3 separate regions of the Homo sapiens genome follow, and all the other regions are linked to region 2. The links are contacts of gene promoters, found by promoter capture Hi-C in blood cells and fetal thymus (Javierre and others, 2016). All regions are on one chromosome and are shown on one strand. The core of a region is centred on a gene start or on the middle of the fragment in contact, and the rest is flanking DNA. Distances in the headings are between cores, read along the strand shown.

What was found. The method cuts DNA at HindIII sites, captures the fragments that hold promoters and counts their contacts. A CHiCAGO score of 5 or more calls a contact.
Region 1: a contact is called between a fragment that was not itself captured here and the fragment with the promoter of ZNF562 in region 2, in 6 of 17 cell types (fetal thymus, megakaryocytes, naive CD4 T cells and 3 more). The highest score is 6.5, in fetal thymus.
Region 3: a contact is called between a fragment that was not itself captured here and the fragment with the promoter of ZNF562 in region 2, in 4 of 17 cell types (M1 macrophages, M0 macrophages, naive CD4 T cells and 1 more). The highest score is 7.6, in M1 macrophages.

The regions. Positions count from the first base shown.
Region 1 is chr19:9,149,623-9,153,810 of GRCh38, forward strand. The region is part of intron 1 of ZNF317 (zinc finger protein 317); the gene reads left to right. Among named protein-coding and RNA genes, the nearest start is that of ZNF317, 11 kb to the left of the region's middle. The HindIII fragment of the contact is 1,338 bases long and covers 1,468-2,805 here.
Region 2 is chr19:9,672,463-9,676,797 of GRCh38, forward strand. It overlaps ZNF562 (zinc finger protein 562), which reads right to left and starts at 2,638. Exons shown (of 6, transcript NM_001130031.2): 1 at 2,553-2,638. RefSeq lists enhancers at 1,607-2,806, 2,345-2,844, 2,523-2,582, 2,845-3,844. The HindIII fragment of the contact is 670 bases long and covers 2,294-2,963 here.
Region 3 is chr19:8,826,823-8,831,121 of GRCh38, forward strand. All of the region lies in intron 2 of ZNF558 (zinc finger protein 558), which reads right to left. Among named protein-coding and RNA genes, the nearest start is that of ZNF558, 3.3 kb to the right of the region's middle. The HindIII fragment of the contact is 986 bases long and covers 1,671-2,656 here.

The DNA of each region.
Region 1 (4,188 bases), core at 887-3,386, 520 kb before region 2:
AGCATGGCTGGCGGGGCCTGATGCACAGCAGTGAGGCTTCTGTGGCTTGGGTGAGGGACCAGTGGCAGAGCGAGTTGTGGGTGAGGCGGCAGGGACCTGGGCCCTTGGTCTGAGTGAGATGGGACACCATCAGAGGATCTTGAACAGAGGAGCGGTGTGATCTTCATTTTACCCATAAAGTTACGGCTGTCATGGAAGCTAAGGGAAGTCAGGGACAGCAGCTGGGAGACCAGTTAGGAAGCAGTTGGAATGTTCTAGAAGAGAAGCGATGCCTTATGCCAAGGCAGTAGCAGTGTAGGTGGTGAGAAGCAACCAGATTTTTGTATTAAGTTTTAAAGTTAAGGCTGGCAGGATTTGCTGGTGATGCAGGTGTGGTTTATGGAAAAGAAAGAGGAGAGTTGAAGGTGATGACGAGCAAGGCTTTTGACTTGAGCCCCTGGGAGGCTGGAGCTGCCATCAACGTGGGGAGGCTGGTGGCAGCACAGTTGTAGGTGTTTAATGTGGGATCCTGTTGGCTGTTGCAGTAGGGATACTAAGTAGCCACCTGGCTGCCACTCACTCTGAGTCATTCTGGGTGGGGCAGGTGCCAGGGAGCGGAGAGTGGCACCCACTATAAATGAACAATTCTGTTAAGTAATTGTGAAATCGTCAGTGGTCATTTTATTTTAATGATAATGGCATTTTAGAGTGAATGTTTGTTTACTGAGCCTATAGAGTTCCATACATAACCCAGTGTTAAAGTCTTCAGTTTCCAGATGAGAAAACTGAGTTTTGATGAACTGACTCTTGGGAGGGGAATGAGCAGAACTGTGGGCTTGCATTAAAGGGGAGTCTACTGAGGCCTCAGGGACAGGGAGACCTTCACAGAAGTGCAATCAGAACCTGGGTGTCAGCACCTCCAAATGGTGGGGGTGTTTCACAATGTGGACCTGTGGGAGATGGGGGAGAGGGGCCCAGGGGAACCCTGACCTTTAGGGGCTGGGCAGAGGAGGGATCTCAAGCCAGAGTCTTCAAAAGAGCAACCAGAGATGTGAGCACAGACTGGGATGAGTGGGCTATGGCTGCAAGAGCAGTGGCATTCCCAGGAAGAGGGAGATAGATTCATAGTGAGCAAGATGATGTGTCAGGAGGTCAGGCAAAGGAAGGGTCAAGATGTAGTGTCAAGGAGTTCCCACATAGGGGACAGTACAGGTGACATAGGTCACTTTGAGAGGCAACAAGATGTGGCTCCGCAGTCACGTCAGCTGGGCTCACAACTTCCACCTATGACCTTGACCAAGTGTCTCGGACCCTTGGTGCCTTATTCTCTGGGTACTTGAGAATAATTCCGGGAGGTTGTGAGGATTAAATAGGAGTGGCCCTGGAAAGACTCAGGAGAATGTCTCATACCTTGTAAACACTACACATGTCGTTATTTGTAGAATTGGCATTAATGTTGGTGGGGAAAGGTGGAATGGGACCTGCAGAAGCTTGTTAGTTGAGCATGAATGAATGAATGGTAGGTGAGGATGGAGATACTGTGCCTCAGGAACTGAGCCTCTGTCACCCTCTCTCCCCTTCCTCAGCAGTGACTTAATGTCAGAACCCAAAGGCACAATGACTAGAAAAGGGCTTTGTAAAAAGAATGAAAGCGTCATGCATCTTTGAGTTGGCCCAAGATCAAATTTGGTGTTGAATAATGAATCCCCAAGGCAGAGTTTATACGTTAAAACACACTTCCTATATTATTGTTTTGAAATGTTTCTGAATATCTAAAACAATTCCAATAGCAGAAATACTAATTGATGTTGAAAAAGATTGTTATAACCCTGGTAATGTTTAAAAGTGGTAATATTGATTATTGATCTGAGTCAGATGTTAAAGTAGCAGCGTCACGGTTCTTACATCAGTGCTGTCATGAGAGTCGCGGTGGAAGCCAGAGAGAGGAGGCATGTTCATACAAAGCAAATTAAATCCCCTCCCGAGGTGTGGGCCACCATACCTCACCAATGTATTGTGGTTTTGATGTTATTTCCTTAATGACTGATGTTGTTAATCATCTTTTCATGTGTTTACAGTTCATTTCTGTAAATTTGGAGAAATGTCTGTTCTGTTCAAGTCTCCTGCCCACTTTTTTACTGGGTTGTCTTTGTTGTTGAGTTTATAATGATATTAAATCCCTATCACATACATGATTTGCAAATATTTTCCACCATTCTGTGTCTCATTCACTTTCTTGATAATGTCCTTGATGTTAATTCTAAATGTTTGGTAGGGTTCACCAGTGAAGCCCCTTGGTCCTGGACTTTTTTTTTTTTTTTTTGAGACGGAGTCTTGCTCTGTCGCCCAGGCTGGAGTGCAGTGGCGCAATCTCGGCTCACTGCAAGCTCCGCCTCCCAGGTTCACACCATTCTCCTGCCTCAGCCTCCCGAGTAGCTGGGACTACAGGCACTCATCACCACGCCTGGCTAATTTTTTGTATTTTTAGTAGAGATGGGGTTTTACCGTGTTAGCCAGGATGGTCTCGATCTCCTGACCTCCTGATCCACCCGCCTCGGCCTCCCAAAATGCTGGGATTACAGGCGTGAGCCACCGTGCCCAGCTGGTCCTGGACTTTTTATTTAATGGCTTTTGATGACTGCCTCAGTCTCTTGTTATAGGTCTCTCAATTTTCTTTTTCTTCTAGAGCCTGTTTGGGTATGTTTCAAGGAATTTGATACATCTAGAGCATTGATCCCCAAGCCCTGGGCCACAGACAGGTACCGGTCCCTGGCCTTTTAGGAACAAGGCCCTGCCGCAGGAGGTGAGCGGAGGGCAAGTGAGTGAAGCTTCATCTGTATTTACAGCGGCTCCCCATCACTCACATTACCCCTGAACTCCACCTCCTGTCAGATCATCAGCAGCATTAGATTCTCATAGGGGCGCAGACCCTATTGTGCACTGCACATGCAAGGGATCTAGATTGCACACTCCTTATGAAAATCTAATGCCTGATGATCTGTCAGTGTCTCCCATCACCTCCAGATGGGACCATCTAGTTTCAGGAAAACACTCTCAGGGCTTCCACTAATTCTATATTATGGTGAGTTGTATAATTATTTTACCATATATTACAATGTAATAATAATAGAAATAAAGTGCACAATAAATGTAATGCACTCAAGTCATCCCAAAACCATCCCCCCTCACCTCACCATCCATGGAAAAATTGTCTTCCATGACACCAGTCTCTGATGCCAAATTGGGTGGGGACTGCTAGTGTAGATGATCTAATGTGTTGGTGCATAATTGTTCATGGCATTCTCTTACAGCCCTTTGAATTTCCGTAAGGTCGGTAGTAATGTCCCACTTCCACTGATGATTTTAGTTACTTGCATCTTTTTTTGTTAGTAATTCTAGCTGTAGTTTTGTCACCTTTGTTGATCTTTTTGAAAGAACCAACTTTTGTTTTCATTAATTCTCCTATTCTCTATTTCATTTGTCTCTGCTTTAATCTTTATTTCTTCACTTTTGCTTTCCCTAGGTTTAGTGTGTCAAGGTAGTTGTTTTTGTTTGTTTGTTTGTTTGTTTGTTTGTTTGAGACTGAGTCTCGCTCTCTCACCCAGGCTAGAGTGTGATGGCACGATCTCAGCTTACCTCAACCTCCGCCTCCCGGGTTCAAGCGATTCTCCTGCCTCAGCCTCCCGAGTAGCTGGGATTACAGGCATGCACCACCATGCCCAGCTAATTCTTTGTATTTTTAGTAGAGACGGGGTTTCTCCATGTTGGTCAGGCTGGTCTCGAACTCTCGACCTCAGGTGATCCACCCACCTTGGTCTCCCAAAGTGCTGGGATTACAGGTGGGAGCCACTGCACCTGGCTGGAACTGGTTTTTGTATGAGATGTCTTACTGGTGGCTTTTCCTAGGCAAAGGGAATAAGATCTCGAGTTCCTACTGGAACCTAAGTGTTAGAGATGGGGATTCAGGTTAAATGAGTGGATGTGATTACCTGGGCAAAGCATGAGGCATGCGAAGGAATGGGTAAAGAATGGCTCTTGAGCAGAATCAGCCTTTAGTGGTGAAAGAGGACCTCTGGATGGTCCAGATGATCCAGAGAAGCAGGGAAAGAACCAGGAGACAGTTGTAGAGGAGCCGAGAATAGAGAATGATTCTCAAAGAAAATAGACACCACATTTTCGTGAGACTCTAAGACTGAAGTGCATTTACTG
Region 2 (4,335 bases), core at 1,388-3,887:
AAAAAATTAAGTAAATCTACTAGACTGGGTGTGTTAGATGTTCAAGTTTTCCTTAGGATCAAATTTTTCAGAAAAAAATGTAAAAACTACACTTAGTCCAAACATGCTCTTAATAAATTATACAGATACTAGATATTTTATTACACTGATACTAGAATACTATTCTGATTATAATAGTAAATAATTCTAGTGTCAGTGTAATAAAGCCTCCATTCTTTCTTCCTGGTTCCTGGAGGCCTCTGTTTTGAAGCACTGTGGGGAAGTACAGACCTAAGAACTTCAGATGAAGAGAATAGTTGAGTATTATTGCCTTTCTTTTTTTTTTTTTTTTTTTTTTAGACAGTTTCGCTCTTGTCACCCAGGCTGGAGGGCAGTGGCGGGATCTCGGCTCAATGCAACCTCCGCCTCCCGGGTTAAAGTGATTCTCTTGCCTCAGCCTCCGGAGTAGCTGTGTAAGATACAATATATTTCTCTGAATTTCTCTTCAAAAGTTCAGCCTGTAAACTTCCTTGTTCTTTGTTCTCAAACTCAACTTTCCTGTTCTCCATGCCTCCTTGCCTCTAGTTACTGTAAACAACCTTCCCATCAGCTCTAATCAATAACTCACATCTGTTCCCTTGGCTACTCATTCTGCAGCTATTCCACTCTTTGAAACTGCACATCCCACCATCATGACTCACACATCCCCCTACCCTTCCTTATTTGGGGAAAATATTCACAGATAGCCAATAGGGTCAGTTTAGATTCTGCGGTCTGACCCTAACCCACGGGGGAGAGACACAGAAGTAGGGACCCAGCGTTAGAAATAAAAACCCCTTCCCCTCCCTTATCTGGTGTACTCTCGCCATCACTCCATCCACGAGACTCACCCTTCTATAGAAATAAATTGCGTTGCTGAGAAAACTTTTGCCTGAGTGCTGGTTTCACTTTGCAGCACCCAGCGTTTTATTTTTTTATCTCCAACAGCTGGGATTACAGGGGCCCACCACCAAGCCCGGCTAATTTTTGTATTTTTAGTAGAGACAGGGTTTTACCATGTTGGCTAGGCTAGTCTGGATCTCCTGACCTCAGGTGATCCGCCTGCCTCTGCCTCCCAAAGTGCTGTGATTACAGGTGTGAGCCAGTGCATCTGGCCTGGCTTTAAGTAGAAAGGCTTGCAGCTGGTAACAATTAGAAAAAAAATAACCTGCAAGAAAATAAAAATTAAAAACTAAAGGCTTAGTCTACACGCGTTCATATTTACATACAAAAACGGGCACACCCTAAACAACTATGTTTTTTCCATCTGAATGTAATGTGTCAAAAATAAGTGGCGGGTGGATCACTTGAGGTCAGGAGTTCGAGACCAGCCTGGCCAACATGGTGAAACCCCATCTCTACCAAAAATATAAAAAATTAGCCAGGTGTGGTGGTGCACGCCTGGAATCCCAGCTACTCGGGAGGCTGAGGCAGGTGAATCATGTTATAAAGTTTTCATGCCACAAAAAAAAAGCACTCAAATATAACATTTTCTTTTCTCAGCAAGGCAATTTACTTCTACAGAAGGGTGTGCCCTCACAGATGGAGCAATGGTGAGCACACACCAGGACAAGGGAGGGGAAGGGGTTCTTATTCTTGAGGAAAGTGGCCCCTGCCGCTTTGTCCTTCCCCGATGGCTAGGGTTAGACCCCACAGGCTAAACTAATTCCAATTGGCTAATTTAAAGAGAGTGACAGGGTGAGTGGTTTGTTGGGGAAAATGGTTATAACAGAGCAGGAAATTGGAATGAGTCAGGGTGGAAAATGAGTCAGGGTGGAGTAAGTAATCGAAATAAGTCTGGGTGGAGCAGGTAATCAGAATGAGTCAGGGTGGAGCAGGTGATCGAAAAAGGTTGCTTTACGGAGAAGTTTAAAAGTAGAAGGCAAAGAATTAAACATACTGACATATTGATTTTTTAAAAAGAAATTTAAAACTCATATCTAACAATCACTTGAACCCGGGAGGTGAAAGTTGCAGTGAGCCAACATCGTGCCACTGCACTCCAGCGTGGGCGACAGAGTAAGACTCCAAATCAAAAAAAAAAAAAAAGTAAAGGACATCAAGACAACGCCAGATTCTCAGATGAGACATTTTTTAGCAAATAAATGGAAGTCACAGCCCTCTTGAAACCATTTTTCCGCCGTTGCTCACCAGGAACATGCCGGAAGAGATAGGTTCCAGACGCGGGAGAATGCGGGGCCAGAGCCAACCTCACCAGAAGGGCAGAAATCCTTTTCCTTTCGGAAAGAAAAAAACTCCCAAAGGTTGCTTTCCAAGCTTTTCAAGAGAGGAGCACAGCGGATGAAAGTACTCAAGAAAACACCCGGCGGAGGCGGAACAAACACACTTCCCGACGCAGCCAGACGGACTGTGCGGCCTCTCGGAACTGGCCAGAGGCCGCACCAGGAGGACTGACAGCCCCTAGAAAAGCGAGTGAAACTAGGCGGATCTGAGAGGCTCCTGGGCGACCACGCCCAATCCTTCCTTTGCCGCCCCGCTGGTATGTCCCGGACCCCCAAGCAGGTAGAACTCACCACAGCGGGGTGGACTCCACCACAATAAAGGTTAAACGGCACTGACCATGCTGAGCCACAGCCGGTAAAGATGGCGGTGGCACACTGACGTCACTTCCGCTCCGAGCCTCCGGCCGGGTGGGGCTCCAGGGCTTGAGTTTCAGGCACGTAGGACAAAGAAATTCTAGTTTCCTCCTGGGTGGGTGCCGGACAGTGCCTGGGGTTGGCTCAGGGAGCGGGATGCAGAAACGGGTTCAGAGAAAAAGATGAGTTTAGAACCGGACCTCTGGACGGAACCGTGGGCGAGGGGTGGGGCCCATATTTGGGGGCGGTTTAGAGGTGGGACCCGGCCTAGCCCGCGTTTCAGGTGCCCAGACGGGTTGGAAAGGCGGGGATGGGGGATGGGACGCACCCCAGAGGATGCTCCTCCAAAGCTTATCCTGGGCGGGCTCAGTGGCTCACGCCTGTAATTCCAGCACTTTGGGAGGCTAAGGCAGGTGGATAGCTTGAGTCCAAGAGTTCCAGACCAGCCTGAGTGAAATAGCAAGACCGTGTGTCTTTTTTTTTCTTTTCTTTTTTTTTTTTTTTTTTTTTTTGAGACAGAGTTTCACTCTTGTTGCCCAGGCCTGTGCCCGGCTCGACCCTGTCTCTATTAAAATATATATATAAGGCCAAGCGCCAGTGGTTCACGCCTGTAATCCCTGCACTTTGGGAAGCCAAGGCGGGCGGATCACCTGAGGTCGGGAGTTTGACACCAGCCTGGCCAACATGCTGAAACCCCGTCTCTACTAAAAATACAAAAAAATAGCTGGGTGTGGTGGCAGGCGCTTGTAATCCCAGCTACTCAGGAGGCTGAGGCAGGAGAATCGCTTGAACCCGGGAGGCGGAGGTTGCGGTGAGCCGAGGTTGCGCCACTGCACTCCAATCTGGGGGACAAGAGCGTGACTTCATCTCAAAAAGAAAAAATATATATATATGTGTGTGTGTGTGTGTGTGTGTGTGTGTGTGTGTGTGTGTCAAGCTTTTTTGTATGCCGCTCCTCATGTTCCTGGAGCCTTTCCATGATTCTTCCATATTAAACCTGCCAGTGATAGATGGCATGGTCTGTCTCTTCCATTCAGTCATTCTTTCTGTAGGCCTTTATTTTTTCTTTTTCTTTTTCTTTTTTTTTTTTTTTTGAGACGGAGTCTCTCTCTGTCCCCCAGGCTGGAGTGCAGTGGTGCAATCTCGGCTCACTGCAAGCTCCGCCTCCTGGGTTCACACCATTCTCCTGCCTAGCCTCCTAAGTAGCTGGGACTACAGGCGCCCGCGACCACAACCAGCTAATTTTTTTGTATTCTTAGTAGAGACGGGGTTTCACGGTGTTAGCCAAGATGATCCCCATCTCCTGACCTCATGATCCACCCGCCTCGGCCTCCCAAAGTGCTGGGATTACAGGCGTGAGCCACCGCGCCCAGCCTATTTTTTCATTCTTTATTTTATAGAACCTGCTGTTTCCATTGCGTTTTCTTTTTACTTTTTTTTTTTTTTTTTTTTTTTTTTGAGACTGGAGTCTCACTCTGTTGCCCGGGCTGGAGTGCAGTGGTGCAATCTCAGCTCACTGCAACCTCCGTCTCCTGGGTGCAAGTGATTCTCCTGCTTCAGCCTCCTGAGTAGCTGGGATTACAGGTGGCTGCCACTATGCCCAGCTATTTTTTCTATTTTCAGTACAGAGGGCATTTCACCATGTTGGCCAGGCTGGTCTCAAACTCCTGACCTCGTGATTTGCCCATCTCAGCCTTGCAGAATGCTGGGATTATAGGTG
Region 3 (4,299 bases), core at 914-3,413, 850 kb before region 2:
ATAGGAAACTAACATGCCTTTCACATCACACCTTCCCTTTGGGTGAGTTCAGCAGACCCAGGCAACTGCTGCAGAACTTCCCTACCCTCTACAGGGGGAAGTATCTCCTTTTTCCCCGTAACAGACCTAATGTGCAGGTAGGCACACAGTAGTTCCAGTCACTGAGCTGGGGAGTGAGGGGGGGTTGGCCTCCAGCCAGCTCACTGGGCCTCCAAGAAAAAAACAAGTAGAGAAGGTACCTGGGACATTTTCAGGCCCCAAGTCCCTATTCAAGGCTGTCTGGAAGCAGAAATTTCCCACTAGGACAGGAGGGGTCTCTTCAGTTTACAGATCCTGTGACACCTGCCCTGCCCTGGATACAGTGCTGGAGGATGGTCACAGCAGATGGGCCACTCTATGTCAGCTGCCCAACACAACTTCTGGTGATGATGGAAATGTTCTATAATTCTGCTCTAATACTTGAAATGTGACTAGTATGGCTGAGAAAATAAATTTTATTTTTTTTGGGAGCAATCATCTGATTCCTAAACTACCTCCAAACACCCCCTCTTTTGCCTCTTAAATGTCTTCCTTCTGAATCCTGAAGTCCTTGTTATCTGCATGCTTACACTACATGCAAATTGCATCACCCTCTGGCCCACAACTCTTTAGTGTCTTCCCACTGGCCTGAGAACAGAGTCTGAAGTGAGGCCTAGTATGGTTCTGCCTCCCTCTTGATCTTGGTCTTGGTCACACTTCTTTCCCTATTCTTTTTTTTTTTTTTTTTTTTTTTTGAGGAGTCTCACTCTTACACCCAGGCTGAATGCAGTGGTGCAATCTCTGCTCACTGCAACCTCAGCCTCCCAGGTTCAAGCAATTCTCTTGTCTCAGCCTCCCGAGCAGCTGGGACTACAGGTGTGCACCACCACACCCAGCTAATTTTCGTATTTTTAGTAGAGACGGGGTTTCACCATGTTGGCCAGGCTGGTCTTGAACTTCTGACATCAGGTGATCAGCCCACCTTGGTCTCCTAAAGTGCTGGGATTACAGGTGTGAGCCACTGCGCCCAGCTTCTTTCCCTGTTCTTGTCTCGGCTTCAGCCATCCCTGTGTTCCCAGTGCAGGGAGCGTGGCAGCCTCTCTCCTGCTGCAGGGCCTTTCCTTACACAGCTTCTTCGACGGCAGTGCTCTCTTGGACATAACCCTGTCCCCTCACTCTAGTCGAGCCCTATGACTAGCTACATCTGACCCCAACTTGGAGATGGAGCAGCAATTCCCTTTTTCAGGGGCCTGTGAACCCCAAGTGGGAAAATAAAGGAAAATCCTGAAGTTCCTTTAAGGGAAATTCCGAGCATCCAGCTAGCCCCAAAAGTAAATATGGAACTTGTTAAACAGGAAGGTAATAGTAACCTAAAACAACAGCCAAAGAAGTTAAGGCTCCAGAGATGTTCGCTTTCCCCATGGAAACTAAAGATAACATCTTAACATGCGTCCCTGAGTTGCCTTTCAGAGGCTGGGACTCCCACTGAGGACCCCACCAAATGGAGCTGCTGGCTCAGAGACCCCAGATAAGCGGGACATGAAGGCTGAGCTTCAGCGTTCTTTGTGCTAAGTTTCTTCTTGAGGGGCTTGGAGAAAGTCACTTCTCCCAGCCAGTTAACATTTTCCTACTGACTCTAAATTTTTAAACAAAGCTTCTTTTCTTTAACCAATTACAAATCAGAAAAATCTTTGAATCTACCTATGACAAGCTCCTGCTTCAAGACATCCTTGCCCTTTTAAGTCTAAACCAGTGTGTAACCTCCATGTATTGCTTTATGATTTTGCCTGTAGCTTCTGCTTTTCTGTAACTTACCATTGCCTTCAGAAATCCTTGCCTAGCCGGGCACGGTGGCTCATGTCTGTAATCCCAGCACTTTGGGAGGCCTAGGCAGGCGGATCACCTGAGGTCAGGAGTTTGAGGCCAACCTGGCTAACATGGTGAAACTCTGTCTCTACTCAAAATACAAAAAATTTGCCAGGTGTGGTGGTATGTGCCTGTAATCCTAGGGACTGGGGAGGCTGAGGCAGGAAAATCACTTGAACCTGGGAGGCAGACGTTGCAGTGAGCTGAGATCGTGCCATTGCACTCCAGCCTGGGTGACCAAGTGAGATTCTGTCTCATTAAAAAAAAAAAAAAGGCCGGGTGTGGTGGCTCATGCCTGTATCATCTCAGCACTTTGGGAGGCTGAGGCGGGTGGATCACGAAGTCAGGAGATTAAGACCAGCCGGGCCAACATGGTGAAACCCCGTCTCTACTGAAAATACAAAAATTAACCGGGCATGGTGGTAGGCGCCTGTAATCCCAGCTACTCAGGAGGCTGCGGCAGAACTGCTTGAACCCGGGAGGCCGGGGGTTGCAGTGAGCTGAGATTGCAACACAGTACTCCAGCCTGGGTAACAGAGTGAGACTCCATCTCAAAAAAAAAAAAATTCCTTGCCTAAAAGCCACTGGGGAGGCCAGGATTTGAACATTTAATGTCTGGTCCTCCTTGCTTAGTGCTGTGCAATAAAAGCCTTTCTATCTATCGTAGCAACCCTCAATATAGACATCTGGTTTCACTGCACCACCAGGTGAGCAGACCCCAGTTTGGTTCTGTAACAACTTAAGCTCTCAAGCTAAATATCCTTCCCAAGAAAGCTTCCCTGTTCCCTCTGATCAAGTTCACTAGTGCCAAGCTCCCACATCACTCCTGTCATTCATGGTTTAAAATTTATCTTCCCTGTTAGAAGGTAAACTTTATGTAGGACAGGGGCCATTTCAGGTCCTCCAGGGTCCCTGTGCATCTGACCTAGGACCTGACTCATGGAGGCGACCTGGTTTGCCAAGGATTGTCCCGGTTTGAACACTGGATGCCCTGTGCCCTAGCAAACCCCTTGGTCCTGAAAAAATGAGGATGGTTGGTCACCATTAACTGTGCACTCAAATAATATCTATTGCATGATAAGTAAACATTCCTTCAAGAATGCTGTAGGAAAGCTAGAATGGAAAAGGTGAACACACACACAATTAGTAGAAACCCCACAATTTAATACTAGATTACTTAACATGATTCTCTGCAATATGAATCACCATACTGTTATTTCAGAGAAGTTTTAAGAAACAAAGTTAATTCCTATTAGGAGGTGATATCGTTGGCTCTGTGTCCCCCCACCCAAATCTCATCTCGAGTTGTAATAATCCCTATGTGTCAGAGGAGGGTCCTGGTAGGAGGTGACTGAATCATGGGGGCGGACTTCCCCCTTGCTGTTCTCCTGATAGTAAGTTCCCACAAGATCTGATGGTTTAGAAGTTTGGCGTTTATGTCTTCTCTCTCTCTCCTGCTGCCATGTAAGACGTGCCTTGCTTTCCCTTTGCTTTCTGCCATGATCGTAAGTTTCCTGAGGCCTCCCCCGCCATGCAGAACTGAGTCAATTAAACTTCTTTCCTTTGTAAGTCACTCAGTCTCAGGGAGTTATTTATAGCAGTGTGAAAACTCTCAGGTAGTTCTTTATAGCAGTGTGAAAAAGGACTAATACAGGAGGCAAGGTGCAGAGGACAATCTTTTTGGAAACCAGTTCCCTACCCTTCAATCTATAAGTTGTTGCTTAATATTCTTCCAAATGTTTTCAAATCTCATTAGGAAAAAAAAAATCCCATTACTCAAAACACATCTGGTCGCCGGTCAATTTAATTTTAAATTTGTTACTAATAAATCATCCTTTTTACAAATGCCCTTATATTTTGAAGTTTGGTGGAGGGCCAATATGCCTTTAGAAATCAAATCAACAGCTGGGTGCGGTGGCTCTTGCCTGTAATCCCAGCACTTTGGGAGGCTGAGGTGGGCGGACCACTTGAGGTCAGGAGTTAAAGACCAGCCTGGCCAACATGGCAAAAACCTGTCTCTACTAAAAATACAAACAAAATTAGCTGGGCGTGGTGGCACTTGCCTGTAGTCCCAGCTACTCAGGAAACTGAGGCAGGAGATTTGCTTGAGTCTGGGAGGTGGAGGTTGACATGAGCCAAGATCGCGCCACTGCACTCCAACCTGGCCAACAGAGTGAGACTTGGTCTCAAGAAAAAAAAAAAAAGTCAAATCAAACAGGCCTGAAAAATGTTGCTAAGTAGTCCTGCTAGTTGTTAGTGGGAAGACTTGTAACACTACATATACATGTAAATATTTTCTATACTTATATAAAATTCAGAAACTTTTAGCATTACGGCATACCAGAAAATCTGTCTTTAGCTACAGTTACACATCTTTACGTTATTTGTATGTTTGTTTTGTGGATACTTATTTGC